4 separate regions of the Homo sapiens genome follow, and regions 2, 3 and 4 are each linked to region 1. The links are contacts of gene promoters, found by promoter capture Hi-C in blood cells and fetal thymus (Javierre and others, 2016). All regions are on one chromosome and are shown on one strand. Each heading gives the region's core, a stretch centred on a gene start or on the middle of the fragment in contact. The rest is flanking DNA. Distances are from core to core; before and after follow the strand shown. Region 1 holds the start of HES4 (hes family bHLH transcription factor 4). Region 2 holds the start of UBE2J2 (ubiquitin conjugating enzyme E2 J2). Region 3 holds the start of ACAP3 (ArfGAP with coiled-coil, ankyrin repeat and PH domains 3). Region 4 holds the start of VWA1 (von Willebrand factor A domain containing 1).

Region 1 (6,929 bases), core at 3,787-6,286:
GACAGTGGGCTGGGTGCGGTGGCTCAAGCCTGTAATCCCAGCACTTTGGGAGGCCAAGACAGGCAGATCACTTGAGGTCAGAAGTTCGAGACCAGCCTAGCTTCAACAAGGTGAAACCCCGTCTCTACTAAAAATACAAAAATTAGCCAGGCACGATGGTGGGTGCCTGTAATCCCAGCTACTCGGGAGACTGAGGCAGAAGAATCGCTTGAACCCGGGAGGCGGAGGTTGCAGTGAGCCGAGATTGTGCCACCGCGCTCCAGCCTGGGCGACAGAGACTCTGTCTAAACAAAACAAAAGAAAACCCAATCTAACAAAGAAAACCTTACTACAAAGCTACAGTCATCAAGAAGACAGTGTGATTGATAATAGAACAAGGATAGATGTATAGATCGATGGAAAAGAATTGAGGGTTCAGAAATAGGTCCTCACATTTACAGTCAACTGATTTTTTTTTTTTTCTGAGACAGGGTCTCACTCTCAGCCCATCACCTGGGCAGAACCCTGCTGATCCTGCAGATCACTGGACCCTCAGGACACTGAGGTGTGAATGCCAGAAGGGGACAGTGGGACATCAGGGAGGCTGCCACCCCAGGGCCCTTGCCCCGGCTGCGTCCGAGGTGGGTATAACCCTGGGGCTCCAGGGGGCCGTGGGGCAGCAGCCAGGCATGGTGAGGAGACAGTCCTGGACCCAGGTGACCACAGAACCCGGCGGGGCGAGCTTCAGCCTCACCTCTCACAAGCCCCGGCTCCAGGCAGCCCCAACCCCACCCCCATCCCTAACTTGCCGGCGCCCGGAGTTCATGGGCCTGGCCTAGACTTCGGTCACCACAGGGACTGAGGTTCTCCAGATTTCAAAAGCCTGTGATCTGCGGTTGTGTTGCCCCGTTCCCCCCGCGGCAGACAAGCCCAGACACACACGGCCCAGACACCCCAGAGGCAAAGGAATTCAGCAAACATTTATTGACCCTTGGTCCTCATCAAGGAGGCAGTGAGAGATGAACTGGAAGTGACCAGGGGCTGCCAGCCACACCCCCTCCACCGAGAAGATGACTTTCACCTACTATTCAGCAGAAAACCAAAAGCCAAGATAAAAATCGCTGGGGAGGGGCAGGGATGGGGGACCGGGCCAGACCCCAGCTGCTGAGCAGCCGCCACCTGAGGTGGGGAGGGGCAGGAAATGTCTGGAGAGTAGGGAGGGCAGAAAGGACCCCCACGTGAGGGGGCACCCCACATCTGGGGCCACAGGATGCAGGGTGGGGAGGGCAGAAAGGCCCCCCCGCGGGAAGAGGCACCCCACATCTGGGGCCACAGGATGCAGGGTGGGGAGGGCAGAAAGGACCCCCCGCTGGAGGGGGCACCCCACGTCTGGGGCCACAGGATGCAGGGTGGGGAGGACAGAAAGGACCCCCCGCTGGAGGGGGCACCCCACATCTGGGGCCACAGGATGCAGGGTGGGGAGGGCAGAAAGGACCCCCCGCTGGAGGGGGCACCTCACGTCTGGGGCCACAGGATGCAGGGTGGGGAGGACAGAAAGGACCCCCCGCTGGAGGGGGCACCCCACATCTGGGGCCACAGGATGCAGGGTGGGGAGGGCAGAAAGGACCCCCCGCGGGAGGGGGCACCTCACGTCTGGGGCCACAGGATGCAGGGTGGGGAGGGCAGAAAGAACCCCCGCTGGAGGGGGCACCCCACATCTGGGGCCACAGGATGCAGGGTGGGGAGGGCAGAAAGGACCCCCCGCGGGAGGGGGCACCTCACGTCTGGGGCCACAGGATGCAGGGTGGGGAGGGCAGAAAGAACCCCCGCGTGCCTAAGCAGGTTCTGGTGGGCGTCCTGGCTGGGTGTAGGCAGAGGCTGGCTCCCGGAGGCCCGAGGGGGGCTCTGAGAAGGGGGCGGCCTGAGGGGGAGCCCAGGACAGCCCCTATGCTGCCCCCGTCCAGCCCGGCCCCTCAGGCTGTGTTTCCTGAGACCTCGCTAGTCTAACCCAAACCTCCCAGCTCTGTCATTCAAAGGGATGGATTAGGTCCCCGTGGGTCCATTTCCCTGTTTTGGGTGCTGAGGACAGAGCTTCTGGACAGACTCAGCCCTCGCCCTCTGGAGCCCCGTCCAGCTGGGCCCGGATGATGCACCACCCAGCCTGCGGCAGATGGGATGGACGACAAGTTAGGAGGAAACAAGGGGGAAAAGCCAGGGGGCAGGTGGTGTGGAGCACAAAGGAACCCAGACTGCGAAGGGACTGCCCAAGGACTGTGATTCCCCCAGAACCTGAGTGGTCCCTGGGCAGCTATGCAGGGCCCTTTCGCCACAGTGGAGAGGGCATTCAAGGCCAGAGCCTGGTGGAGAGATGCCCTGCCCTCTTGGGACCCACAGCCCGGGTGACTTTGTGGGGTGCCTCTCTTACCCTGAGCTCCTCCCCACACTCCCAGCTTCGCTGCCCCAGGCCCTCCTTCCCCTTCTGCACTGATGCCTTCTCTGAGCAACTCCCCTCCCCCGGCCACGCTGAGCTTCCAGCTGCCCCCAAGAAGACCGTCCCTTCCTGTGCTGCTGAGGAGGCCTCCCTCACGGGGTCTCAAGCTCCCAAGGGGAAGGGGGCCTCCCTCACGGGGTCTCAAGCTCCCAAGGAGAAGGGGGCCTCCCTCATGGGGTCTCAGGCTCCCAAGGGGAAGGGCTACTTTGAGGCTCTCCTGGGACCAGGACCCCCAGAGTAGGACTGCTGGGGGGACCAAGGGTGGGACCCCCAGCCCAATGCTACCCCGCCCAGGGTCACTGGCCTGGCCCTCGGAGCTCAGGGAGGGGGCAGGGCAGCCAGGGGCCAGGGGTGGCCTGGCTTGTTGGGCCTGGGAGGCTCCTACAAGCTGTGCACGGCTGTGTCCTGGAGGGCCCAGGGGGGCTCCTGATGGAGGCACAGACTGGGGCCTGGAGGGCCAGTGCTGGTGGGAGGGCTCGCTCGCCTCCCGTGGGCCCTGGTGAACTCGGCCCCAGTTGGGAAATGGCCCTGGGTGCGGCTCAGGGGGAGACCCTCTGCCTCGGCTGAGTGCCTCGAACTGCGCCGGACCCCCCCGAACGCGGGACCGGGATGGCGACCGCGGCGCTGGTTCAGGGGAACGTCCGGCGCTGCCTGGTAACTCGGTGGTCGACAACGGCACGTGCTCGGGACGATGAGGGAGGAGCCCCCAGTCCTCACCCACTGGGGAGGCGGAACCTCCCTTACCGGGGCAGGGGAGGCTGCGGGCAGGGCCGACGCCCTCGTGAGCGACGTCCTTGGCCCCGGCACTCGGTGTCCACAGCCCAGCTCGGACCCGCGCGCTCCCGCCGGGCGCCCCCCGCACAGACGCCTGGAGGAGGGGTCTGCGGTGGGCACGGGCAGCTCTGCACTTAACAGGAGAACCCAGCGGGGGTCTTCAGGGCCAAGGGCGGCCGCCCTCATCCCAGCGCCGCTCAGGACCGCAGCCTCCGCCTTCCGCGGTCCGGGGACTGGGAGTCGGGAAAGGGGCCTCCGAAAAGTAACTTGCCCGGCGATGCTGCGCGACCGCCTTCCAGCACCGGGAAGATTCTGGGCACTCAGGGACGTTGAGCTTCCCACCTGAGCCTCCGGGGGGACCCCTCACAACCGCCACCGCAGAGCGAGGCAAACCCAACGCGGGGGCAGAGGGCGGGTGCGCATGCGGGGCTGCAGGGATGCGGAGGGGAGGGCGCGGAGCGGAGGGCGCGGAGCGGAGGGGTCGCCCTCAGTCCTCGGTCCCGCCCCCAGCCCGCCCCCCCGGGCCCGCCCGACGCCCCCAGCCACCTGCAGACCGCGGCCCTGGGAGGAGGGCGGGACCCCGGCGCGGCGTGGCTGCGGGGCGCTCCCAAAGTCAACTCTTCACCAAGACAAAGAAAGAAAACTCGTGACGCAGACTCTGGAATAATAAATACGTTTTCTCTGCTACAGTCTCGGCAAAGGCCACGGCCCTAGAACGGGGCGCCGCCTCCGATGCAGTCTCAGGGCCACAGCCTCAGCGCAGCCACGGCCTCCAGGGCCCACCCGGGCCCTGCGGCCCCGCCCTGGGGGCGGCGGGCAGCGCCCGGGTCAGACCCGGCAGCAGCGGCGGCGCGAGCAGAGGGAAGGGGCCGCCGAGCGATGGCAGCAGCGGGCGGCCCGCGTAGACCTCGGGCGCTGGGGCCTCTGCGGGGGCAGCCGGGGACAGCGAGGCCGGGCGGCGGGAGGGTCCCAGCTGGCGCAGGCAGGCTGCCAGGTGGCCCAGCAGGCGGGAGCGCACGTCGGCCGGGACGCCCTCGCAGCCGGCCAGGAAGCGGTTCACCTCCGCCAGACACTCGTGGAAGCCGGCGCGGTACTTGCCCAGAACGGCGGGGTCGGCGCTGAGCGCGGCTGCGGGAGCGACACAGGAGGAGAGGTCGGTGCCGGGTCCCGGGGGTCCCGCGCCCTCCCCCCGCCTCCAAGCCGCCGCCGCCCGCGCCTCACCCGTCACCTGCACGCGACGCAGGCTCCGCAGGTGTCTCACGGTCATCTCCAGGATGTCCGCCTTCTCCAGCTTCGAGTGGCGGGAGCTCTGGGGGCGGGGATAGGCGGGAGGTCCAGGTCAGCTGCGACCCAGACTCCGGGTCTCGGGCCTTCGCCCCCGACTTACCTCTTTTCTGAGGGCGTCCAGGATGAGGGTTTTGAGCTGAGCGAGGCTCTCGTTAATACGCGCTCGGCGCCGCTTCTCCATGACCGGCTTGGAGGACTGCGGGTCGGGCACCGGCTGAGTCCCGCGTCCCTCCCGCCCCCCGGTCGCCCCCCTCACGCCCGGCCGGGACCCCACCTTGCGGTGCTCGGCCGCGCTCCGGGGCTTGTCTGGGGTCCGGCTGGCGCTGGCCGGCGCTCCTGCCATCGGCGAGGCGCTCGGTTTCCCCGGCGTGTCTGCGGCCATGGTGCGCCCCGCGCCTCCCCGTGCCGGGTGGAGCGCGCCGCCACGGACCACGGGCGGGCTGGCGGGCGAGCGGCGAGCGCGCGGCGATCCGAGCCCCTAGGGCGGATCCCGGCTCCAGGCCCGCGCGCGCCTCAGGCCGTTTCCCTATTTAAGGCCTCGCCGCCGCGGGGTGTGTGAACCCGGCTCCGCATTCTTTCCCACACTCGCCCCAGCCAATCGACGGCCGCGCTCCTCCCCCGCTCGCTGTCAGTCACGCCTCGGCTCCGGGCGCGGCCTCCGCGGGCGACAATGGCATGCGGGGCCCCCGCCCGCGCCCCCCTCCGACACCGCTGGGGACAGGGCCGGGTGATCCCGCGCTCCCCGATGCAGCCGGGGCCGAGCAACGCGCCGGGAGGGGCCGCTGGGGGCGAACGGGGCCCGGGACCCCCGGGGCTGGGCGGAGTCTCGGGGCTCACTCTCCCGCCCAGGGGGCCGGGAGCCGGGGCTGGACGGAGCTGGGGCTGTGGCCGCGCGGGAAGTCGGGAAGGAAATTCCCCCAGTGGCGCAGGGTCCGGCGGCGCCGAGGGGTGGGCGAGCCTCGGTCTCGAGCCTCTTGGCTTCCTCCGCCCGTCCCCACTCCGGTCCCGGTTTGGGCCCTGCTCGGTCTCCGAGTTTGATCCGACACCGGCTCGGCCTCCGGGGGTCCCACCCTCAGGTGTGCGGCCTGGAGCACGGAGGGCTGCAGAAAGCCTTGGGAGCGACAGAGCCGGGGGAAGGTCGGCGGCCGGGTCGGCAGGCGGGAGGGCGGAGTCAGCGGACGGCGAAGGGGCGCACGGGTGGCCCCGCAGAGCAGGGCCGGTGATGGCGCGGGCCGGGCCGGACCACGAGGAGCAGAACGTGCGCGTGACGCGAGCGGGCTGGTGACGTCACCAGGCACCCGGGGCGATGACGCAAGCCTGCTGGGATGACGTCATGTGGCCCGTGTCGCCACGTGCTTCCAGGTGACCCGCTGGCGAACTCAGCAGCAGCAAAGTGGGGCTCACAGAAAAATGAGGGGCCACTGTTAATATAACTGCAAAGGGGCAGGTTGCGTAAAACAGGGCTGTGGTTATTTTCGTGTTTGCTGTTTTTATTTCGAATGCCGCTGCGGGGCACGTTGGTCCTTTCCGCACTCGGGGTCCCCGGCGGCCTCACGCGTCCGTGCAGCGGAGGCTTCCTGAGCCCCCTGGAGAGCCTGGCCTGGGCCCGGGTGTGGAGACCCTCCCGGGCTTTCAATCCGGGCAGGAGGCAGATGGCAGACTCAGCAGTCACGTAAGAGAACCGAATTAGGTGGGTGGCCTGGGTGGACAAAAGCCTTCTTGACGCCGGGTGGTCCCAAAGGCTTCTGCGGGGTGGGGGGTCCTCAGGGGGGAAGCCTCAAGGGAGGGCGTGGCATTCCCAGGGTGCGAAGGGGGCGCAGGGACGAGGGAGGTGGGGAGGGGGAGCTGGGCCAGCGAGAACCGGGAGCTTCTGGTCGGGGAGGGAGTCGGGGAACTTTTTGGGGAGCTTTTCTGAGCCAGGGAGTCGGCTGATTGGCAGGTTCGCCCCTGCCCGGGCACCTGGACCCAGGGTTTCTGTGCGGAAGCTTCCCCTCCCCTCGGACCCCACGTCTAATCTGGCCCCAAGCAAAGTCCTGCGGCCCACGCGGGAAGGCGCCCTCTTCGCGGCGCTGACCCCGGCCCTCCGCGGTGCCCCTGAGGCGCCCCCCACACCCCGCCGCTTGCACAGGGGCGCGGGGGGCTGCGAGGCCGGAGCGGGGGTGGCGCCCTCTCCGCCGAGAGGCTGTCCGCGCCCCTCGCCGACTGGGGAAAGCCGCGGGGGCTGGGCGGGCGTCTCGGAGGTGGCCCCGCGAGCACTTAAGCCCCGGCTCTCCTGCCCCGACCTCTCTGCGCGCGCCTCGGCGCTGGAGAGGCTCGGACCGGCCCCGTAGCCCAGGAGGTGGTGTGGATGGTGTCCCCGTCCCGCGTCCCTCCCCGGCCTGAGCGCTGGGCCCGGGCG
Region 2 (6,957 bases), core at 431-2,930, 270 kb after region 1:
AGCAAACTGTGAGAACAGAGTTTGAAGCATATGTGCCTCGGGTTCCCTTCAAACATCCCCACAGACAAAGGACACCAAGCATATCATCCTGCTGAGAGAAAGAGTTGGCGATTTTAAAACAAAAAGGCACAGGAAAAAAAAATGTTCACACACAGAAACTGCATTAAAGCAGCGTGAATCACCGAGGGCAGCTGTGCCCAGGTGCTGAGGCAGTGGCTGCCCAGCGTCCCTCACCCGTCCCTCTTTGTCTGGACAGCTCTTTCCTGCTTAGGGGATGTGGCAGGAAACCTTGGCCTGACCCATCGGCCAGGCGCATGGCACACCCAGGTCCAGGACTGCCAGGGAAGTCTCTGCCTTCTCCACCAGACTGCTCCGGAGGCTGGACGGAAGCCCGGGCCGATGGAAATGGGACACTCACCTGCGACTCACACATGCACCTGCCTGGGTCACCTGCCTGTCACTCATCCACGCACCTACCTGCCTGGCTCACCTGCCTGTCACTCAAGCACTCACCTACCTGCCTGGCTCACCTGCCTGTCACTCACGCACATCCCTGCCGAGAGTGGAACTGCTAAGGAGGTCAGCGGTGCCAGGCCGTGCAGATGACGGACTGCAAGTTCCGGGCACCCAGACCCAACCACGCCCTAGGCTCAGGTGCTAGACTAAGCGAGATACTCACGATCCTTTCTTCGGAAGCCAGATTACACAGTCTGGTTCCCCTGGAGCAGGGCGCGGGGCCACCGACCTGCCCCAGCCAAGCCCGCTGTACACTCTTCGCTGCCCACCTCCCACCGGGCTGAGGCCCGACCTTTCAGCCGCTTCCTATCTGGGTCTGGCAAGAGGATGGCAACCGGACTAGAGTTAAATACACACGCACTAAGTGGCAGGCACTGAAAAGGACGCCAGGAGGTGACACCTGGCCAGGGGCTGAAAGGATGCAGGGAACTGGCAGGTGTGGATGGCGAGGCCCGGCGCCGCTTAGAGACTTGTTCCGGGCTCGTGTCTCACTCGCCGGCCGGCGGTGGTCTCCCACTGTCACCGCCCGGGTTTCCCAGAAACGCTGGCCCTAAGCACAGTCCCGGGCACGCTCGTTTCTCTCGGGGTTTACGGGGCAGTCTGGAGTCTAACAGTTCAGGGGCGAGGCGACGGCGGGCTCGACGGCAGCCCTCCCCCGACACAGACTCCCGTGATCCACTGACGAACCAGGATCGAGGCTGCCCGTCCTGGGGCAGCTGCAAGTGTCCCAGCTGACGGGAAACCCGGCCGAGTGGTCAAGTCCCCGACATGACCCTGACCCGGAGCTCCGGGAGCCCGCCGTAACCGACCTCGGGTTCCGCGCAGGCAGGCTCGGGCCGGGGCCCCGCGGGCGGCGGGCGCGAACGGAGAAGCGTCGCGCAGGGTCCCCAGCAGCCCCGGGCCGCCGCTGTGGCCGGCTCCGGCAGGGGGGACGAGCGGGCCCGAGGACCCGGCGCAGGCCTGCGAGCGCGCTCACCTCTCCCTGTCGCTGCGCGTGGGCCGCCGCCGCGCTCAGGCTCGCCGTAGTCGAGGCCGGAGCAGGGTGCGGAAAAGCGGGGCCCGCGCCCGAAACAGCCGCACCGCCCCGGGATTGGGCCCACCGAACCCGCCGCAGCGCCGCCGCCGCCGCCTCAGCCTCCAAGATGGCCGCTCGCGGGGCGGAACCAGCCTAGCTTCTGCTTCCGGTGCGCGGTCCGGGGCGGTGAGGAGGGAGGGGGAGGGCTGGCCGCTCTAGGCAGACTGGCGGACCGCGCCCACGACTCTCTGTCGCCGTCGACCCCGGGGTGGGGGATGGGGCGGGGGGCGGGGCGGCGCTTGCGCACTGGCGGGCGGCTCCGGGCACCGTTAGTGGGCGCGAGAGCCCCAGACCCCGAAGCCGCGCGCTTCCCTCCCCATGTGCCACGGCCCAGGGCGGCAGGCCCGGCTGAGGGCGACCCCGGTGGAGAAAGAACCCCGACCCTCCCGCCTCCCGGCTCCCGCCTTGTCCTCCGCTCCCACGCCCCACCCGGCCCTTAGGGGAGGCGCGGCGCGGCCCGGGCATGGAGCGTCCCGGGCCCCTGGAGGCTCAGTGGAGGGTTGGGCTCCAGGGAGCTCAGAGCTCTCTCGTTCAGGGACCCGAGAGTGACACGCGTGGCATCTCTTTGCAACCCACGTCCGCGCCGCAGCACCCTCCCCTGCAGGTGCCTGCCCAGCCCCGGGATGCCCCTGACCTCCCCTTGGACAGACTGCAGAAAGCGCGGGGCGCTGCGTCCTCTCCACCTCTCTCTGACCCCAGACACATTGGGAGAGAGCGGTAGGTGGCGGGGCGCTGGGGTGGGACGCTGGGGGCAGGCGCGCAGCCCACCGCCTCCCTGAGAGGCCGCTGAGGACAGCGGGGAGCTGAGGGTGGTCCCCTGGTGGGGGATCAGGAGGTGGACCTCGCCACCTGGCTGCCTGTGGCCCTCTCCTTTGCCCCAACCCTGACTGCCTCTCAGGAACAACCACAGGTCAGCAAGGTGGCTGAATATTGAGGGTCAGTCCCGCTGTGGCTACGGGCAGAGGGCAGGCTGTGTCCATGCTCAGCCCTGACTCTGGCCCTCTGGGACACCTTGGTGGGTCTGAGACGTTGCTGCAGGCCGTGGGGCAGAAGCCAGGAGGAGTGTCCACGCAGCCTCAGCCCGTGGGAATCCAGCCTGCCTCCATTACTGCCGTCACCGGCTCCACCTTCGGAGAACATCTCAGCATCCAGCCTCCTTCCTCTGCCTCCTCTCAGGCCTCTGCCGTTCCCATGCAGGGCAGGCCAAACTGTTTTCACAGCATGGAAAGTTATGTGAGGGAAGCCACACCGGCCGCAGATACAGGCACCAGCACATCCACTCGCATGCACACTCACGGCTGTGGCCCGCGGCAGATGGAGGCCCGCTCTGCCTTGTCTGTCCCTCAGTAGTGTGCGATGACAGCACACCTGTGGGGGCCCTGCAGCTGGGAAGACTGCAGCGAGGCTCAACTCAGAGGCCCCTGCTCAGGAGCATGGCTGAGTCACACCCCAGGGAGAAGGTGCCCCGGACAGGTGTGGCCAGCACGTCTTGCCAAGACCCCACCACCCCACCCACCCGCATCTGTGGCCTTCTGGTAAGCAGGACACAGGCTGCCCAGGCCTCTAGCCATAGAGCCGATGGCCTTGGCCAGTGGGATCGGCACAAGCAGCTAGGTTGGTGGCAGATGGTGGCTGTAACCTTCTCAACCCTGAGATTGCCCTCTGAGGGCAGGAGCAGCCCTTCTGCTGTGGGCCAGCCCTCCGGAGGGACTTCCTCTGGCAGCTTCAGGAATAGGACAACAGGGACCACCCTCAGCATCTTGAGCAGCGGGGGGCACCCTCTGCTTTGGCAACCAAGAAAACATCCCCCAACCCAGTTACCACCTCCTGCCCCCACCTCCTCCAGCCCCCAGGGTTGGACCAGAAAGCCTTGGCTGCCTCTGAACAGCAGGGATTGTCTGGCCAGGGGATGCTTGAGGGACAGAGAACCCAGCCTGGAGGGTGCAAACTGAGGAAGGTCTCAGTCCCTTTAGAAAGTTTGTTTTGCCAAGGTTAAGGACACACCCATGACATCTCGGGAGGTGCCCAAGGTGCATGTGGCACAGCTCGCTTTTATACATTTTAGGGAGACATGATTTATTTACACGGGTTCAATCTGAAAGAGCAGGATAAATTGGGGTGGTGTGGGGAGACCTCTATGTTATAGGCAGATTCAAAATGATCCTGACCGACAGTGGTTGAAAGAGTTATTATCAATAGAAAGGAATGTCTGGGTTGCAGTAAGGGGTTGTGGTTTTCCACGCAGCTGAAGCCTCGGGTTGCCGGCTTCAGAGAGAATAGATTGTTAATGTTTCCTATCAGACTTAAGGCCTGTGTTGATGTTAATGCTAGTCAGCTTTTCCTGAATTTCAAAAGGGAGGAGGCATGACCCACGACCCCTTCCCGCCATGGCCTGAACAAGTTCCCAGGTTAACACTGGAACGCCCTTGGCTGAGAGGAAGGGTCCATTTGGACGGCTGGGGGGGCCTTAGAATTTAATTTTTGGTTTACATTCACCCCCTTCTGGCCAAGATTTGCCAGAGGCAACATCCATGTCCACCAAATCTTTATTGTGTCTCAGCGTTGCTGGGCGAGTGTGGCTGCCCACCCTCAGTCAATCCTGTCCCTCAGTTTGACTCCCTATGACCCAGGGACTTACAGTTAAAAGATTTACAGCCCATTAAATTTTGTAGGCCAGATAGGAATGGACATGGACCAGCATTCATTACCTCTTAAAACAATTTTTTTTTTTAAAGTTGGAGTCTCACTCTGTCGCCCAGGCTGGAGTACAGTGGCATGATCTCGGCTCACTGCAACCTCCGCCTCCCAGGTTCCATTGAGTCTCCTGCCCCAGCCTCCTGAGCAGCTGGAACTACAGGCATGCACCACCATGCCTGGCTAATTTTTATATTTTTGTAGAGACAGGGTTTCACCATGTTGGCCAGGCTGGTCTTGAACTCCTGACCTCAAGTGATCCGCCCTCCTTGGCCTCCCAAAGTGTTGGGATTGCAGGCATGAGCCACCACACCCGATCTATCATGTAACATTTTTATAAATTCCTTTTTTACCAAAGGTATTGCAGCTTACACAGACCGTTCACGACATGTGGACTTTCTAGTTTGTGCTGAACATCCCTTTTTTTAAACAACCAGTCATTTATTTAAGGACAAAAATTTACCATACAAGATTCTTTCTCATATAAAATTATTTTTTTTAACCTTACTTAACAAAAAGACCTCTTTATATCTATAACTTTCCTTGGTCTCTCTTATTTCCTTGTTCTTTTTAACTCATTTTATACATAAACTTTAAATAAGCTTTGAATTAGACAAAATTATTTACCTTATAATAAGAATTTTTGTAGAAAGAACGTTTTCCTATAATTTTTTTTTTTTTAGATGGAGTCTCACTCTGTCGCCCAGGCTGGAGTGCGATGGTGCAATCTCGGCTCACTGCAACCTCCCCCTCCCAGGTCCAAGTGATTCTCCGGCCTCAGCTTCCCAAGTAGCTGGGATTACAGGCATGTGCTACCACACCTGGCTAATTTTTGTATTTTTCAGTAGAGACGGGGTTTTGCCATGTTGGCCAGGCTGGTCTCCAATTCCTGATCTCAGGTGATCTACCTGCCTCGGCCTCCCAAAGTTCTGGGATTACAGGTGTGAGTCCCCATGCCTGGCCTTCAGCTGGGTTTAGAGTTTTACAATGCTTATGCCAAGTTTTGACCCCTTATAAATCAATAAATGCAAACAAAAATGTATGCTGACAGTTTTTAAGACACTCCTTATATTACTTTACCAATACTTTTGGCCGGGCACGGTGGCTCACGCCTGTAATCCCAGCACTTTGGGAGGCCGAGGCAGGTACATCACGAGGTCAGGAGATGGAGACCGTCCTGGCTAACATGGTGAAACCCCGTCTCTACTAAAATATACAAAAAATTAGCCGGGCGTGGTAGCGGGCGCCTGTAGTCCCAGCTACTCGGGAGGCTGAGGCAGGAGAATGGCCTGAACCCAGAAGGCAGAGCTTGCAGTGAGCCCAGATCGCACCACCGCACTCCAGCCTGGGGGACAGAGCGAGACTCCGTCTCAAAAAAAAAAAAATTTTTTACTTAAGTCACATGAAATTTGTTATTATGTACTAAATGTATGCATACTCCTTAAGCCACTTTGATACCTTGTGGCCACAAAACATGTATCAGAATCCACGCACGTACACATAAACACATCTAAACACACATATACACTCATCCAAAAACCCTACAGCTTTTGCTTTACACCTCTAACCATGACATATCAACACAAAGTCACTAGTTAGAAAAACAATAACAGAAAGAAACATCTAGATGCAAACTGTGGATGTCATCTCAGTAGAAAAGTAACAGCTGGTCAGGCACGGTGGCTCACAACTGTAATCCCAGCACTTTGGGAGGCCAAGGTGAGTGGATTGCCTCAGGCCAGGAGTTCAAGACCAGCCTGGCCAACATGGTGAAACCACGTCTCTACTAAATTTACAAAAACTAGCCAGGCGTGGTGGCGCACACCTGTAATCCTGGCTACTTGGAAGGCTGAGGCAGGAGAATCGTTTGAACCCAGGAGGCAGAGTTTGCAGTGCGCCGAGATCGCACCCCTGCACTCTAGCCTGGGCAACACAGTGAGACTCTACCTAAAAAAAACAAAAAGTGTAACAGCAGCTTTAAGGCAGGCAGCAAAGGAAACAGAGAGATAGAGAACTTAGGAACTCTATAGTTCTTTTTTTTTTTTTTTTTTGAAACAGAGTTTTGTTCTTGCAGCCCTGGCTGGGGTGCAATGGCACGATCTCAGCTCACTGCAACCTCCGCCTTCTAGATTCAAGCTATTCTCCTGCCTAAGCCTCCCAAGTAGCTGGGATTACAGGTGCATGCCACCACGCTCGGCTCATTTTTGTATTTTTAGTAGTGATGGGGTTTCACTCTGTCGGTCAGGCTGGTCTCGAACTCCTGACCTCAGGTGATCCGCCCGCCTTGGCCTCCAAAAGTGCTGGGATTACAGGCGTGAGCCACTGCGCCTGGCCAGGAACTCTATGGTTCTGTAGTTGCAGGCTGACCTTTGGGCTCTGAATTTTTCCTGGATGGAATTTGCCCATCAGTTTAAAATGTGCCCCAAAAGACCATAATATGGAACCAGCTGGGGCACTAGGAAACCCAGCATGCCCGCGACATGTTCAGTTTTATACCAACACTTGCAGGTAGAGGCGCCTGAAACCAGCGGGGTGCCTGGAAGGAGGTCGCCCTCTTGTCTTTGCTGAGGCTTACATTATTTATTTCCCACTTTTTTTTTTCTTGAAAGGAACCGAGCTGTGGCCTGGGGTTCCATGGAGCAGGTGGGGCGCGGAGGAACTGAGCTGTGGCC
Region 3 (7,064 bases), core at 4,454-6,953, 310 kb after region 1:
GAGGCGATGGCTGTCACCCCTGCCCCTCTGTCCCACCTGGCCCTTGATGAGTGCAGAGGCCAAGGCTGCCTCATCACAGCCTGAGCCGGAGCCCCACTGCCTCCTGGCCCTGGGCGGCCACCCTGGGGTGCCCATCCCTGCAGCAGGGAGCACTCAGCCAGAGCCGGGAGCACCCAGGGGCTGGGCCTGGGGAGCTGGAGCCTGGGCTCTGAATCGGAACCCGAAGTAGAGAAGGACCGGGCACAACCAGGAGCAAAGGGACGGCTGAGCCATCCTGCCTTGTCTACTTCGGGACCTCCTCTGTTCAGTCTGCGGCTCAGGTTCCCAGGCTGCAGCCCCACATCTCACGGGTGCCTGTCCTGTGTGTCCATCCACGTCAGTGCCAGGGCCCCCGGGGGCCACCCAGACCCAAATGGCAGCCAGGCCAGCCTGGGACGAGAGCCCTGCCCAGTTGGGGGAACCCTGGATAAACCACCCCTCCCCCAGGGTCTAGTGTGGCCCTTGCCTGGGACACGGCAGAGCCCCCAGGGCTGTCCCCCAACCCCACACTGACTTGAAAATGTGGGATTCCCCCCCCCCCCGACTAGAGGAGCAGAAACGTGCCCCCCCCAACCCGACGCCGGCCTTCAGGTGAGCCAGCGCAGCTCGGTTCCAGGCCAGGCACAGCCCACAGGTGGCAGGGAGGCCGCGCTCACCATGTGGTAGTTCACCACCTCCTGTAGGCTGTCAGCGAACCTCTGCAGACATTCCTGGAGGAGCAGATGGGAACCCGTGCTGAGATGGCAAATCCGGGCCCAGGTCACCCAGCCACGCCCTCTGAGCCCCTGGGCGGTGCAGACACCGGCCTGCTTCTGGCCTGGACGCCCTCAAGGGGCTGCCTCCCTCGGCCTCTCCCCCAACCCCACCTTGAGGTCAGAGGTCAGTCGGCCCCTCACCGAGATGACGGTGTCGCCCTGGCACTGCTGGGACAGGTCGCGGACGCCGCTCACGAAAAGCCTGCTGGTGCTGACGTAGGCCTTACCGGCTTCCACCATGCCACTGCACAGCTTCACCAGCTGTGGGCCAGCGGGGCGTGGTGAGCACAGTGGGCACTGGCGCCTGCACTCGCCACCACACACGGCCACTCAGAGGCAGGAAGAGCTCCCAGGGTAGGTTCCACTCAGGGCGTTGGCACTCAGGACTCAGTGCCCCGGTGCAGCTTCCTCACGCCTGGGCCTGCCTGGGGCTTGGAGGCCCGTCTGGGAGGGGAGGGTGGGGCCGCCACGGCTCGGCTGGGAGGGACCAGGAGCCAGGCAGGGGACCCAGGGCCAGCAGGACCAGCAGAACCAGCCCATGTGGGGCTCATGGATAAGGCTGCCCACTCCCAGCTCCACGGCCTGTTGCCCCCTCCTCTTTCTCAGCCCATGTGGGGCTCATGGACACGGCTCCCCTCTCCACGGCCTGTTGCCCCCTCTTTCTCAGCCCATGTGGGGCTCATGGACACGGCTCCCCCCTCCACGGCCTGTTGCCCCCTCCCCTTTCTCAGCCCCAGCCCCAGCCACACCAAGGCTCAGCCCACACAGCAGCTGTCCCCGTGTCACCAGCCCAGCAGAGGGGACGGGCAGCCACCGTGGGTCGGGGACTCACCACAGCCCAGCCCCTCCCAGATGGGACGAGACTCAGGGCCAGCCACATGTGTGCATGTGACATGTGCACCCTGGAACACACATGCTAAGACACAGGGACCAGGACCTGGAGCACCACACGCATGCTCCACATATGGGGGGTGTAAGTGGCTTAGTAAGGCCTGGAGGGCGAGTCTGGCCATGTGGCCATCCCAAGCTTGGCCGGGCACAGGGCGCTCCAGGCCCGCCCTTCACCTTGTCCAGTTTGGCCTCAATCTCCACCACGTCCGTCTCCACCTCGTCAATGGTCGCCCTAAAGCAAGAACGGGGCTGGCTGGGGTCACCTGCAGCCTCAGCCCCCTCGGGGCTTCACCTCCCCCCGCACCTCCCTGAGGGGCTCCACCATGGGAAGGGGCTTTCAGGAAACAGGCTGGGAGACAGACGCCTGCCTGCTACGGGGGCAGGACTGGGACCAGGTTCAGTGCACTTCCCCCCGCCCCCCCAACCCCAGGCAGGCAGAGGCAGCCGCTGCTGTGCCCTCGGGGAAGAAGGCTGGACCAGCCTCTCCCAGGACAGCCGGCCGCTGGGAGTCCCTCAGGGACAGTGCCCACCAAGGGCTGAGCCAGCCTCACCCGCCTCTCCTCTAGGAGTTCAGAGTCAACCCTGGACCCATCTGGAGCCCCTCAACCCTGCGGCACCTCCCCTCACCCCACTGCACTACTGCAGCCCATCCAGGTCTGGCACCCATGCACTGTGGGACAGGGTGGGGGCAGTAGGGCAGCTGCTCTCGGTCCTGGCAGCACCAGGAGGACCCAGACCAGCTGGGGAGAGACGCCCCCGGCTCCCCCAACCTCACAGCTGCAAGCGGCATGGTCCGCTGGAAAGACGGGTAGGCCATCCTCCTCAGAGCCCACTCCCACCAGGACAGCCTGACAGTGGGGCTGCCTGGGGAGAGAAGAGTTAAGGCATGACATCACCAGAGAAGCCTCGGCGGGAGAATCCCCGGAAGACAGGAGGCAGATGGATCGGGCACGTGACCACCCCCTCCGGGAGCAGGCAACAGGGAAACAGGGCCAGGATCCCGGCAGCCCTCCACACAATCGGCTCACTGGCTGTCCGGGCCATCTGGCCTCCTGGGGATTGGGCACCACAGGGCCCGGGCTGGGGCCAGGACTCCAGGTCTAGGGCAGGGGTCCAGGAGCAGAGGCCATCAGGGCCTACAGTCCCTCGTACCTTGCTACCCTGACCGGTGTCCCAGGCCTCGGGGGAGGGGCCTGTGGTTTACATGGGGCGTGTCCTCAATTAGGAGCTGGAGCTGCAGGCACCAGGCTGCCCCAGCCAGGGACCTTGAAGGGTCCCAGCCACCCCAGAAGGACACTAGGTCCTCTCTGAGCAGCCCTCTCTTGTTCCCAAGGGGCTAAGAGGACTCTGAATCCCGAAGCAGGGGGCGATGGAGGGAATCTCGCTGTGGTGTCCGCTGACCGCCAGTGCCCAGCCTGCAGCCCCTGGACCCTGACCTCTACCTCAGCTGGAGGATCCCAGAACAGAGAAGGGACCATCCTCCCAGGAGAAGGCAGCAGAGAGCGCCACACCCCAGGAGTTGCAGCCACCCCTGAGCAGGGCCGGATGCAGAGACAGCTGCACCCAGAGCTGCCGCCCTCGGGTTTGGGGCGCCCGTGTCCCTGGAGAGCCAGCAAGGGGGGATGGCTGCACCCAGGAGCTCACGGACGTGCTCATGGGGACAGGGTGGGCCCTGGCAGAGGCCCCGAGAGCCGCTCCCACTGCTGGGAGCCCCTCAGCTCTCCCTTCCTCAGTCCTGGGGACCTAGGCCTCCTCTGCTGTGCTCAGCCCAGGATTTCCTCAGCAGCTTGGAGGACGGGGAGGAGGGTGAGGCTGCCCCCCAACCAAAGCCATGACTCAGCGCCTGAAGCCCCACCCAGGGGAGGGGCACACTGAACAGAGGCCAGGCGGTTCCCCTACACGGGCTCCCCTGGCCTCCGGCCCACTGCACCTGGGCTGCCACTAGGCCCTCCCCAGACCAGGAGGGTGCGGGCAGGGTCCCCCTCTCCCGGGCTGGGGCGACCAGGCTCCACGTTACAGACCACATCTTCCCGCCCACCCTGCCTGGCCCCCCAACCTGGCGGTAGGCCAGGAAACTCAAGTTACGCCCTTAGGGCCTGCCCCCAGGACAGCCTCAGGGAGCCCCTCGAACCCCAGTTAAATCACAGCCTAACCCCAAAACCCACTGGGCCAGGCCATTCTCATCTCCCCACTCCAGTCCATGCCCCACAGGGGTGAGGCACTTTCCCAGGGCAGTCACTCTACGGCACCTACTGCAGCCCCACAGCCCCCATAACTGGCTCCTGTAACAGGCTCCCATGAGAGCCGGTTACCAGAGAGAAGGCCCAGAGGTGAGTGGGTTCCAGCACCCCCACACGACTGGAAGAGGGCAGTACAGGGCCGTCTGCGTGGAGGAGGAGGTCCATTAGGCTTCTGACGGAGGGGCCAGGGAGAAGGTGGGTGCTTCAGCCAGGGTCCAGCCCCCAGCAGGGAGGCCATGCCCACACCTCCCCACAGCCCGGGTCCTCAATGCAGGATCCTAGGGTGCTCAAGTTATTCAACCCCTTTTCCCAGGTCAGCAACAGAAGATGGGAGAGCAGAGGATGGCCCCAGTTCCTCTGCCCAGGGCTGGCGGCCACTCTCCTGGCTGGCCCTGAGCCTCCCACTCCAAGGCTCCTGAGCCTCCTGGTGAGGGCTCCAGGGATACAGAGGCTCCCCGTGCCTCCACACACATGCTGACTTGCCAGCAGATCCCAAGAGACCCAGCGCGCGCGTGCACACCCACACATACACAATCAAGCACACATGTGCAAACATGTTCATGCACAAACATGCCTGCACACACTGGTACCACACATACATGTGTGTTCAAGGAGACACTGCACAGACACGCATCAACATGTGTACCTAGTGATGGAACACGCGTGTACAAGGTGATGTGTCTATTGCTGACATGGCTAACACAGTACGTGAACCCACACAGACAGGTGGTGTGTGCACACGCTTGCGTGCACTCATCGGCAGGCTACATGCAGAAGCAAGCACAGCCCCGTGGCACAGCTCATCCACACGTCCTGTGCAAGGCCTGGTGTCCGGAGGGAGGCACGCAGAGGGGCAAAGTTCACAAGAGCGCACCCCGCACGAGCTCGTGCAGAGGAGGGGGCCTCACGCAGGTGCGCACTTGGGGATGCAGAGAGGTTTCTTTGCCTCCATTGTCGTTTGCCAAATGTCCACCAAGCAAAGCCGATGCACACTTGTGCACACGTCTGTGAACATGTAGTTCACGCAGGTGTACACGCCTGCACGCCACGAATGATGGAAAACATGCAGACTCGGTGTGCACACAACCCCTACCCCCTACCTGACCTTCCCCGCCGCTCTTCTCGGCCGCCACCCCTCCAAGCCCCTGGGTCATTCAAACCACTTCACGTTTCCAAGCACCCTACCCCAGGCCTTAAACGCGGCTCCAGCTGCCTGTTCCCCACGCGCTGCTCTGGACACAGGATCAAGTCAGAGACCAGGGGCCGACGCCCCCACGGACCCAGACGACCCTGGCCAGAGCTGGACTGCAGGGCCCGGGAGGGGCTCAGCCCAGTGGAGGTGCAGACACAGAGCGGGGGCGGACGGTCCCGAGGTGCCCACGGCTGCCCACGCGCACGCCCTCCACCCGGGGCGGCCGCACAGGGCAGGAGCGTCTTTTGTTCCAACCCCCGGGGCATGGCGGGGCGGGGCCGCCGCTTTGTCCGAGGCCGGTCCTCCAGCCCCTCCCCGGCGGCCGCGGCCCGGCCCGGCGCTGACCTCCCCACCCCGCCGCCGGGCACAAAGGCGACAGCGACGCCCCCGGCCTGCGCCCACCCCGGCGGCCCCGGGCGGCGCACCTGAAGCGCGGGGAGTCCTTGACGCACTCCTCGAACTCCACGGTCATGGCTGCGGCGGCCGCGGCGCTCACTGGCACGAGGACCGCGGCGCCGAGCGGCAGCCGCGCCGGCCCGGACCGCTCGTCCCGCCCGCGCCGCCTCGGCGCCCGCCCGCCCCGGAATGAGGCCGCCGCGCCGCGCCCCGCCCCGCCTGTCACCGCCGGGGAGCGTCGCCAAAGTCAGCCGCCCGCGCGCACCGCCCGCTGTCACTGCCGGGGAGCGTCGCCAAGGTCCGCCGCCCGCGCGCGCCGCCCGCTGTCACCGCCGGGGAGCGTCGCCAAACGCCTCTCGCAGCGTCCAGGGACCACCCCGGTCCGGAAGTGAGGCGGGGCCTGCCACGGCCGTCTCCGGGGACAGTCGGTGGAAATGTGGGGCGCGGGGAGGGCGCGGGGAGGGCGCGGGCCCGCCCGCTCCAACCATCCCGGCCGTTGCGCAACTCAGGGCGTTTGCAAAAACCACGTCTGGGAGGACTTGGCCGCAACGCGGCGAACGGGCGCGCTCGGGGAGTGTGGGCGGCGGCGAATGAATGAGCGAGTGAACGAATGCACGCCCGCGAGAGCGCGGGGTGACCGCGTGGTTGGTGCGCGCCTCCCGGGGCGCCGCGATAGAGGTAGAGCGCCTGCGCTCGGCGGCGGGCCGGCACTTTGCAGCCGCTCCCTAAGCCCGGCCCCGCCTCCGCTCCCCGACTCTGGCCGCCGTGGCGCGGTGCCACCGCGCAGGCGCAAGAGCGGCCGGGGCCGGGGGGGAGGGGGGGGGGGCGTGACCAGGCCGCGTCCGCGCGCGCGCAGGATTCCTGCGCTGGAGGCCGCCTCTGACGCCACCGGCTGGGCTCCGCCATGAGTTCGGCGCCGGCCTCAGGCTCCGTGCGCGCGCGCTATCTTGTGTACTTCCAGTACGTGGGCACCGACTTTAAGTAGGTTTCCCAGGCGCAGCGGCGGGCGCCACGTGGGCCCGGGCGGAGGCGGGAAGGAGGGCGCGGGCGGGCAGGCGGATGTCTCTGGACGCGGGTTCCAAACGTTCGGGGAAGGAAGCGGCCCTGGCCTCAGACGGCGGCGGAGACCCCAGGGCAGGGCGCCCCCGGTAACCTCCGCCCGCTTCTGCCCGCAGCGGGGTCGCGGCCGTCAGGGGCACTCAGCGCGCCGTCGGGGTCCAGAACTACCTGGAGGTGCGCTCAGCCGGTCACGGGACGCCCGGTGAGGGGTAAGGGGGAGGCTCCCGCCCGCGCGTCCCCGGGGTCCGGCCTCGCTCACCCGCCCGCCCCGCGGCTCGGTCCTGCAGGAGGCCGCCGAGCGGCTGAATTCCGTGGAGCCGGTCAGGTTCACCATCTCCAGCCGCACGGACGCCGGGGTCCACGCCCTGAGCAACGCGGCGCACCTGGACGTCCAGCGCCGCTCAGGCCGGCCGCCCTTCCCGCCCGAGGTCCTGGCCGAGGCCCTCAACACACACCTGCGGCACCCGGCCATCAGGTGAGCCCGCGACCTAA
Region 4 (7,271 bases), core at 3,043-5,542, 440 kb after region 1:
TCCCAACTTTTGCCCAGCATGGTGTCCCTGACCGAAACCCCTCCACTTCAGGACCCTGGGTCCCCAGGCCCGCCCCCACCCTGAGGGTGCCTCTACACCCCTTCCCCCAGAGCCCCTTCCCCCAGCCTGAGGGCCAGGAGCAGCCTCCCTCTTCCTGCAGTCTCTACCACAGCTCTCCACTGGCCCAGGGGCCTGAACTCCTTGGGTGCAGCCGAGCTGCAGGGTGGCTGTGGGGACCTCTGCTTGGCGTTCTTTCCCGGTGGCTGAGGCCCCTGCCCTGCCCAAATGGGAGCCCGGAGTGTGTGTGTGTGGCTGTGTGTGTCCCATCTGCGTCCCTGTCACACGTCATGCCGGAGCAGGGGAGGCAGTAAGGGGCCCCACCCCACTGGATGCAGTGGGCTTCCCACCTTGCCCGGTGTCATTTCCTGATTTGCAAAATATTTCCTGGGAGCAGAGTTGTTGGCAAGCACAGCCTCAGACGGTGTGAGCAGCTGGGGGACCCCTCAGATGTGGCTCCCTCTGTCCCTCCGGCCTGTGCTGGCCTGCCCCTGCCCCCAGGCCTGTAAGCTGGGCAGGCTGTGGGGCAGGAACTCCCCAGGGTGAGTGGGCTGGTCTGAGGGCTAAGGCCCCTGCTCCCAGCTCCGCCCCACCCGCCTCTGGGAGTCCCTTGTGGTGTGTGGACATAGGTCAGTCCCTCCCTGCTGCCTCCTCCCTATCCCAGTCCAGGCCCCTGGGAGTTTTGCGTCTGCCCAGGGCTGTGGCCTGGGCCTGTCTGGACTGTGTCTGGGGAAGGGGCAGCATGTGGTCCTCCTCTCCCTTTCAGGGAAGGATGTCCCAGCAGAGAGGCAAAGTGAGGGGACCCACACAAGGAAGGGGCCCTGCTATTAGGAAACCCTGGGTCATTCAGGCCTGCTGCTCTCCGGCTCCCACCGGGCCGGGCTCTGTCCTCGCTGTGACGAACCTCCTGCCCCTGTCGAGGCCGGCAACACCCTCCACCCGGCCACCCCTCCCGAAGGCCCCCAGCCTGCTCTGCCCCTGCAGTCCTGGCGCAGGCCCCTCCTGCCCACCCCACCCTGCTCTCAGCACTCGCGGTTCCTTCTCTCTGCCTGGAAGGCTCTTCCTCGGGTACCCCTTGCGTGCGAGTCCCCAGTGACCCCCTGTTCTCACAGGGAAAACAAGTAGACCGTATCTTTCCTAGCTGTTCACCGCCCACCCTCCTAGCCTGGCAGTGCTGGCCCGGCGCCTGTGTGTCCCCAGCACTGAGGCTGGGGCGCGGCTGTGCCCAGCACACAGACGAGGGATGGATGGACAGACGCAGATGGTGCAGCTCCCACCCCTACCCAGGCTGCTACCCGCCAGGTGTCTACCCGCCACCCCAGCTGCTGCTGGCACGGGGGACTGAGGGGGGTCAGCTCTGGGGCCAGAGGGGCAGGCCTGGGCTCCTGGGAAGTGAAAAGTGACCCCCGAGGCCCCCAAGACCTGTCCTTGACCCCAGTGAGCAGGTTGAGTCTAGGAGCTGCGTGGGCCCTGCTCTCTTGGTGACCCCTGCTCTGCCCCACTTACTGTTGTGGGGTGGGCTCAGGCACACCCCAGAGCAGTGCCTCAGGCCCGCACCGCTGCCCCTCACCGCCGCTGCCCCTCACCGCCGCTGCCCCTCACCACTGCTGCCCCTCACCGCCCCGTCCATCTGCTCCTGTGTGTGCTTGAGTACGTTTGTGAGATACGTGAAAACAGCAACAAAAGGCGCCGGGTGCGGGCCTGGGCGTCCTGCCCTCAGCTCGGGTCAGGGGTGGGGTCAGAGGCCTCAGGAGTTGCCCTTTTACCCAGGGTCAAACATGACCACAGCCAGCTGGGGACAAAAGGCCCTTCATCTTCTGCAGAAGCCTGGATTGTGCGGAGGAGGGAGCATTCCCAAAGGCGGGTGGGGGCAGGGGCGGTGCCCGGGTGACAGCAGCCTCCCCAGCTTCCTGGAACTCTCTCCACCTGCCTGCAGACAGACCGGCAGGGCAGGCTGGCTCCGGGAAGTGAGGCACAGGGACTCCCACAGCCCAGGCCCAGACCGTGGGGGCGGGGTGGCCGCAGCCAAACCAGGCTGCTCCCCACCCCATGGGGCCCCAGGCCACCAGGATCAGACAGGGGCTGTGCCTGCAGGAGGCAGAGGGCTCGGGGCCAGCACCCACTGTGATCTGGCCTGACCCGTCCTTGCCTCTGCCTCTTACCCCGGGCCCTTCTCCCTGGAGAGTGGAGGGTTCCGGCTGTTATATTTGTGCTTCCTCCGGTGTCTGCCTCAAGTCCGGCCCGGGCCCTGACACTGCACCTCTGGCTGACCCCATGCTCTCTGGGACCCTCTGTCCACGTCCCTCCTCCGGGGTGGAGACAGCGGGGGGAGGGCAGGACACAAGAATGAGTCCTGAAGACTGAGGGGCACGGGGAGAGCTGATGGGGAGGGTCTCCTAGCTGGAGGGACTCCAGGCAGAGCCGGGAGCAAGGCAGGTGGCTGAGCTCGGCCCAGGCTGGGTGGAGGCCAGGCCTCCTGTGCCTTCTCCCGCTGATGGCGAGCTGAAGGGAGGAGGGCGGCCGCTTCCTTGAGGGCCTGAGTCACAGCCAAGAAGACCCGCTCACTTTTTCCAGAAGTGAGGGAAACTTCCCCGTCAGCCCTGCAAGGCTGGCTGAGGTGTGACTGTGGCCCGCCTGCTGGGCGAGGGTGGGGGACAAGCGGGCCACTGGCTGTGAGCCTCCCCAGGGTGGGGGACCCTCGGCCCAGCTCCCTGCCTGACTACCTGGACGTGCCTCCGCAGGGTCTGCAGCCAGCTTCCGGTCAGACCCCAGGTCCTCCAGCGGCTGCGGCCTTCAGCGTCATCTCCACGGCAGCCCCTGTGTACTGGGGGCTGGGGGGCCTGGCGAGGCCCCTCGAAGTGGTACAGCTTGCACTCTGGGGACCCAAAGTCCCCCCACCGGGCCCAGGCGGAAGCACCAGGCATTTCTGGTCCCAGCCGAGGTCTGAGGTCTGTGGAGCGCAGCCAGCACCTCCACTGCCAAGATCCCCGGCAGGGGGGGTGGGGGGCGCCGGCGGGGACACAGCTCTCCCTTGTTCCTGCCGCCAGCTCCTCAGCCTCAGCCTGCTGCTTCCTTTTTTAGGCAAAGTCGAGTGCTGGCCGTCCGCACGGCCCCGCGGTGTCTCACCTGCCTGAAAGGGAGGAAGGAAGCCTGTGGAGCCCCATCCGTTCTCCCGCGGCGCATCCTCCAGGAGAGGGTGGGGAAGGAGGAGACATCCTGGCAGACACCCCCCCACGTCCCCCACCTCCCAGCTCTGAGCTGAGGAGGCCCTGGAAGAGGGCCATGGCTACTCCGAGGGAGGGCCGGGGTAGGGTTCTCCTGTCCAGGGGACACTGCTGGCCCAGCCCCACCCAAGCAGGGGAAATCTGCCCTGGGAGCCACTGTCCCTCAGGACGCCCCCTGCAACCAGCCACCTCTCGTCTGGGCCTCACCAAGACCCCAAGACTCAAGAGCTCCTGTCTCACCAGTGGGACCCTCCAGTCCTGCTGGGGGTGTGTCCTGGGTCCTGGAGTCTGGGCCCCTCACTGGGTAGGGTATATGGGTAACAGGCCCAGTGTGGTCCCACTGGACAGGGCCTCAACCAACCATCTCCCACTCCCATGCCTCTTCCTCCAAGAAGCCCAGGTGGCGTGGGTGCTTCGAGTCTCTCTCGAATTCCTGTCTTCTGTCCCCTTTCAAGCCACTGTGTCCTTGTAAGTTCCACCCCATGGTCCTTCCCATCCCTGCTGGTCAGTCCCTGGGATACATGTCCTGTTACTCCAGACACCTATCCGCCTCCAGCGCGGAGGCCAAGGCGAAACCACGGTCTGGACGTGTTTTTTTGGTGCCACCGCCAGCCCCTGGGGTTCTCTTGGGCCTGGCTGCTGGGACCCCAGCACCCAGAGTCACGGCAGTGGTGGGCATGGGGAGGGCCTAGCCTGGTACCTCCCTGCTCGGCTCCCGCGGCTGGGGGTCGGAGAGGGGTGGAGAGCGTGGGCCGCACAGCCTCGGCCGGGAGAGGGAGACTGGAGTGTGTGTGTGTGCGTGCCTGCGCGTGCGTGCCTCGGTCGTATCTCGGCTGGTGCTGCGTGTCCCTGCGTGTCGGGGTCCGCTCGTGCGCGCCTCTCCGGGGTCTGTGCGCGTGGCCCTCCGCTCGCGCCGGAGGGCGTGGGCGTGGCCTCGGCGTGGGTGTGGCCGCTCGGGGAGGGGCCTCCCGGGGGCGGGGCCGGCCTGGTCCGCGCGGTGACGCGCCCTGCAGCCCCGAGCGAGCGAGCGAGCGAGCGAGTTGCCGAGCGCGCCCCGTCCCTCGCGCGCGATGCTCCCCTGGACGGCGCTCGGCCTGGCCCTGAGCTTGCGGCTGGCGCTGGCGCGGAGCGGCGCGGAGCGCGGTGAGTGCGGCGGGCGGCCGGGCCGGGGCTGGGGCTTCTGGTGACCGCTCTGCGCCGCTGCCCGCGCAAGGCCGTCGCTGTCCCCTGCTCCGGACGGGCGGGCGGGCTGGGAGGCTGCGGGAGCCGGGCGGGGGCGCGGGCGGAGCGTCCTGCTCACCTGAGGCTGGCGGCCCAGGTGCTCCAGGCGACACCGTCCGTGAGCGCCGGGGCATAGGGGCCGTCCCGGCCCGCATCTCTGCGGGATCGCGGGCCTGGACAGGAAGAGGGAGATGTCTGTCAAGGGGGCACCCCTGCCTCAGTTTCCCTACCCTTGCGAGGGCCCTTAGTGGAGGGATGGTAGGGAAGTTGGAGTCGCCCCACCGCACTGGGGAAAACCGCAAGGCCGGGACTAGAATTGAGGCACGCTGGTGCCCTGGCTTGGTGGGGAGGGGCGGTGTAGGGGGCATCAGCCTCCACCCCGGAGGTGCCCGGAGGAAGGGGGAAGCCTGCGAGGGGCTGTTCCGGCTTTCAGGCTGCTGGGGGTTATATCTTGTTGTGTGAGTCCAGGTGGGCTGGAGGATGGAGGCCAGGGGAGGGGCCACCATCTAGTAAGCGGGGTCTGGGCTCCAGCCAGGCCATCCGGCGTGGTCATTGCTGTGCCTCCGACACCTTCCCCTGCTGCTGTGTGCATGCCCAGGGTGCCTCACCTGCAGGCTGAGCTGCGTGGCTGAACTCCAGCCTCAGGCTGCTCCTCTGAAAGCCATGCCTGGAGGGAACAGCCCCACGGCTCAGGCCTGTCCTGGGGGCCTAGGCCAGGACTCTTGGCTCCACCTGCTTGCAGGGTCTGTGAGGAATGGGAAGGTGTGGGGGCTTGGAGCGGAGAGTCGCCCTCTCACAGATGGGATAACACAAGCCCAGAGAGAGCCCTAGATCCCATGGCCAGTGTGCAGTGAAACCCCCAAAAGTACAGGCCTCTTGCTTAGAGTTCCTCTTTCCCCCAACCTAGGACCTTTGGGAGAAGGCAAGCATCCACTTAAGGAAAGCTGGGGCCCTGGGGGACCCTGCCTTGCTGTGGGGCTGTCTGGGGGGCCCACACCTGAGGCTGAGCATTCCTCCTTTCCCCCAGGTCCACCAGCATCAGCCCCCCGAGGGGACCTGATGTTCCTGCTGGACAGCTCAGCCAGCGTCTCTCACTACGAGTTCTCCCGGGTTCGGGAGTTTGTGGGGCAGCTGGTGGCTCCACTGCCCCTGGGCACCGGGGCCCTGCGTGCCAGTCTGGTGCACGTGGGCAGTCGGCCATACACCGAGTTCCCCTTCGGCCAGCACAGCTCGGGTGAGGCTGCCCAGGATGCGGTGCGTGCTTCTGCCCAGCGCATGGGTGACACCCACACTGGCCTGGCGCTGGTCTATGCCAAGGAACAGCTGTTTGCTGAAGCATCAGGTGCCCGGCCAGGGGTGCCCAAAGTGCTGGTGTGGGTGACAGATGGCGGCTCCAGCGACCCTGTGGGCCCCCCCATGCAGGAGCTCAAGGACCTGGGCGTCACCGTGTTCATTGTCAGCACCGGCCGAGGCAACTTCCTGGAGCTGTCAGCCGCTGCCTCAGCCCCTGCCGAGAAGCACCTGCACTTTGTGGACGTGGATGACCTGCACATCATTGTCCAAGAGCTGAGGGGCTCCATTCTCGGTATGCGGGAGGAGGCAGGGCCCAGGGAGCCCTAGCTGGGAGCCGCAGAAGGAGAGGCTGGGTTGAGACTTTGGGAAGATCTCATGTCCCCAGAGCAGCGGCCAGGGCCTCCGGGGCTGTGGTACCCCTAGGGTGCAGGGCTGAGTGATGCAGCTTGTCTATGCACACTCTTCACTGGGCGACCCGTGTACCCTGCTGAGACGGGGGCAGGCTTGAGTAGCCACCTCCAGGTGTAGCTCCCTGCTGATGTGTCCAGCCCAGACCTCGAGGCCCCAGGGAGTGCAGAGCCCGGGTGTAGGCCCAGGAAGAAGCTTCCAAGTCTGGGGACTCTGCAGATGGGCAGCATGTGCTCCTGAGCATGCCCACCATACCTGGAGAGGGGTGAGCCAGAAAGGTCAGGGACTGCCCCCCCAGAGAGCACAGGGCACCTCTCCTGGGTGGGGACAGCCGCCGAGGGCTTTGAACTAGTTCGGACTGCAGGCCCACTGTGAGGGTTTCCTGAGAGGCCGGACCAGGGAAGGCCTGAGGCAGGAGCTGAGCAGCTCCCATTGGCTTTTTTTCTGGACCTCCCTGCCCCAGCCAAGCCCTGAAGGAGCTGGGGCTGGAGATGAGGAACCGGCCACTGGCTCAGCCTGCTGCAGCCACTGAAAAATGCCAACCCTGGGGATCTCACCAAGTCTCCGTCTGTGGGTTAATCATCCACCCAGAGCCGGAAGGGGTTGGACTGTGGGTTGGAGAGGGGTGGACGGCCCTCCCCAAGGTTTCCCCAGGGACGTCTGGCCCCTAGTGGCCCCAGGTCACCCAGTGCAGCTGCGCCTGGAGGGGACCAGGAGGAAAGGCTGCCTTAAGCAGCCAAAGGAAAAGCCTGAGGCTGCAGTGCCGAGGGGCCAGGCAGCAGGGTGGGGGCTCCTGGGAAAGAGGCCGGGTCTGAGGGTGGGGGATGGGAAGAAAGTGGCCCAGGCACCCAGCACTGCAGGAGGAAGATCCTGATAGCTTTAACCCAGCGCAGACATTTATGAGCCTCGCCACAGCAGGGTCACTCAGAGGGCTATGTGGGGCTTGGTGTCACAGGTCCAGGAGTCCCCCTCTGGAGAACCCCACCCCACACTCTCCTGGGGACCCAGGGCAGGCAGCGCCTCCAGAACCCCAGGGCCTGCCCCTGTGGTCTCCCATCTCCTAGCTGC

The links. The method cuts DNA at HindIII sites, captures the fragments that hold promoters and counts their contacts. A CHiCAGO score of 5 or more calls a contact.
Region 2: the fragment with the promoter of UBE2J2 here is called in contact with the fragment with the promoter of HES4 in region 1 in 15 of 17 cell types (M2 macrophages, naive B cells, M1 macrophages and 12 more); the score reaches 10.8 in M2 macrophages.
Region 3: a contact is called between the fragment with the promoter of ACAP3 here and the fragment with the promoter of HES4 in region 1, in 4 of 17 cell types (endothelial precursors, erythroblasts, M0 macrophages and 1 more). The highest score is 7.5, in endothelial precursors.
Region 4: a contact is called between the fragment with the promoter of VWA1 here and the fragment with the promoter of HES4 in region 1, in 1 of 17 cell types (naive B cells). The highest score is 6.0, in naive B cells.

Annotation. Positions count from the first base shown.
Region 1 is chr1:995,061-1,001,989 of GRCh38, forward strand. It overlaps HES4 (hes family bHLH transcription factor 4), which reads right to left and starts at 5,037. Exons shown (of 4, transcript NM_021170.4): 1 at 4,806-5,037; 2 at 4,632-4,727; 3 at 4,466-4,553; 4 at 3,904-4,372. The coding sequence starts at 4,913. The coding sequence ends at 3,999. RefSeq lists silencers at 4,003-4,312, 4,863-5,002, 5,073-5,452, 5,553-5,602, 6,680-6,929. The HindIII fragment of the contact is 9,560 bases long and covers 1-6,514 here.
Region 2 is chr1:1,272,174-1,279,130 of GRCh38, forward strand. It overlaps UBE2J2 (ubiquitin conjugating enzyme E2 J2), which reads right to left and starts at 1,681. Exons shown (of 7, transcript NM_058167.3): 1 at 1,493-1,681. It overlaps LINC01786 (long intergenic non-protein coding RNA 1786), which reads left to right and starts at 1,829. Exons shown (of 3, transcript NR_185846.1): 1 at 1,829-2,308; 2 at 2,630-3,126; 3 at 6,895-6,957. RefSeq lists enhancers at 1-321, 322-828, 829-1,336, 2,527-3,165 and silencers at 1,526-2,105, 2,266-2,315. The HindIII fragment of the contact is 5,565 bases long and covers 1-4,885 here.
Region 3 is chr1:1,302,227-1,309,290 of GRCh38, forward strand. ACAP3 (ArfGAP with coiled-coil, ankyrin repeat and PH domains 3) reads right to left here and starts at 5,704. Exons shown (of 24, transcript NM_030649.3): 1 at 5,543-5,704; 2 at 1,860-1,917; 3 at 936-1,055; 4 at 696-749. The coding sequence starts at 5,589. PUSL1 (pseudouridine synthase like 1) reads left to right here and starts at 6,371. Exons shown (of 8, transcript NM_153339.3): 1 at 6,371-6,494; 2 at 6,689-6,746; 3 at 6,860-7,047. The coding sequence starts at 6,418. It overlaps SNORD167 (small nucleolar RNA, C/D box 167), which reads right to left and starts at 2,586; the gene lies at 2,503-2,586. RefSeq lists enhancers at 1-146, 147-746, 747-1,347, 1,348-1,947, 1,948-2,548 and silencers at 5,253-5,472, 5,523-5,692, 5,733-6,412, 6,633-6,702, 6,733-6,872 and 2 more. The HindIII fragment of the contact is 38,674 bases long and covers 1,820-7,064 here.
Region 4 is chr1:1,431,398-1,438,668 of GRCh38, forward strand. It overlaps VWA1 (von Willebrand factor A domain containing 1), which reads left to right and starts at 4,293. Exons shown (of 3, transcript NM_022834.5): 1 at 4,293-4,424; 2 at 5,530-6,087. The coding sequence starts at 4,352. It overlaps LOC107985729, which reads left to right and starts at 1,836. Exons shown (of 4, transcript XM_017003066.2): 1 at 1,836-1,891; 2 at 2,566-2,674; 3 at 2,799-3,005; 4 at 3,139-4,152. The coding sequence starts at 1,836. The coding sequence ends at 3,753. It overlaps LINC01770 (long intergenic non-protein coding RNA 1770), which reads right to left and starts at 3,176. Exons shown (of 2, transcript NR_125996.1): 1 at 2,791-3,176. RefSeq lists enhancers at 972-1,715, 3,204-3,947, 3,207-3,266 and silencers at 3,052-3,346, 4,093-4,462, 4,221-4,410. The HindIII fragment of the contact is 8,860 bases long and covers 1-6,396 here.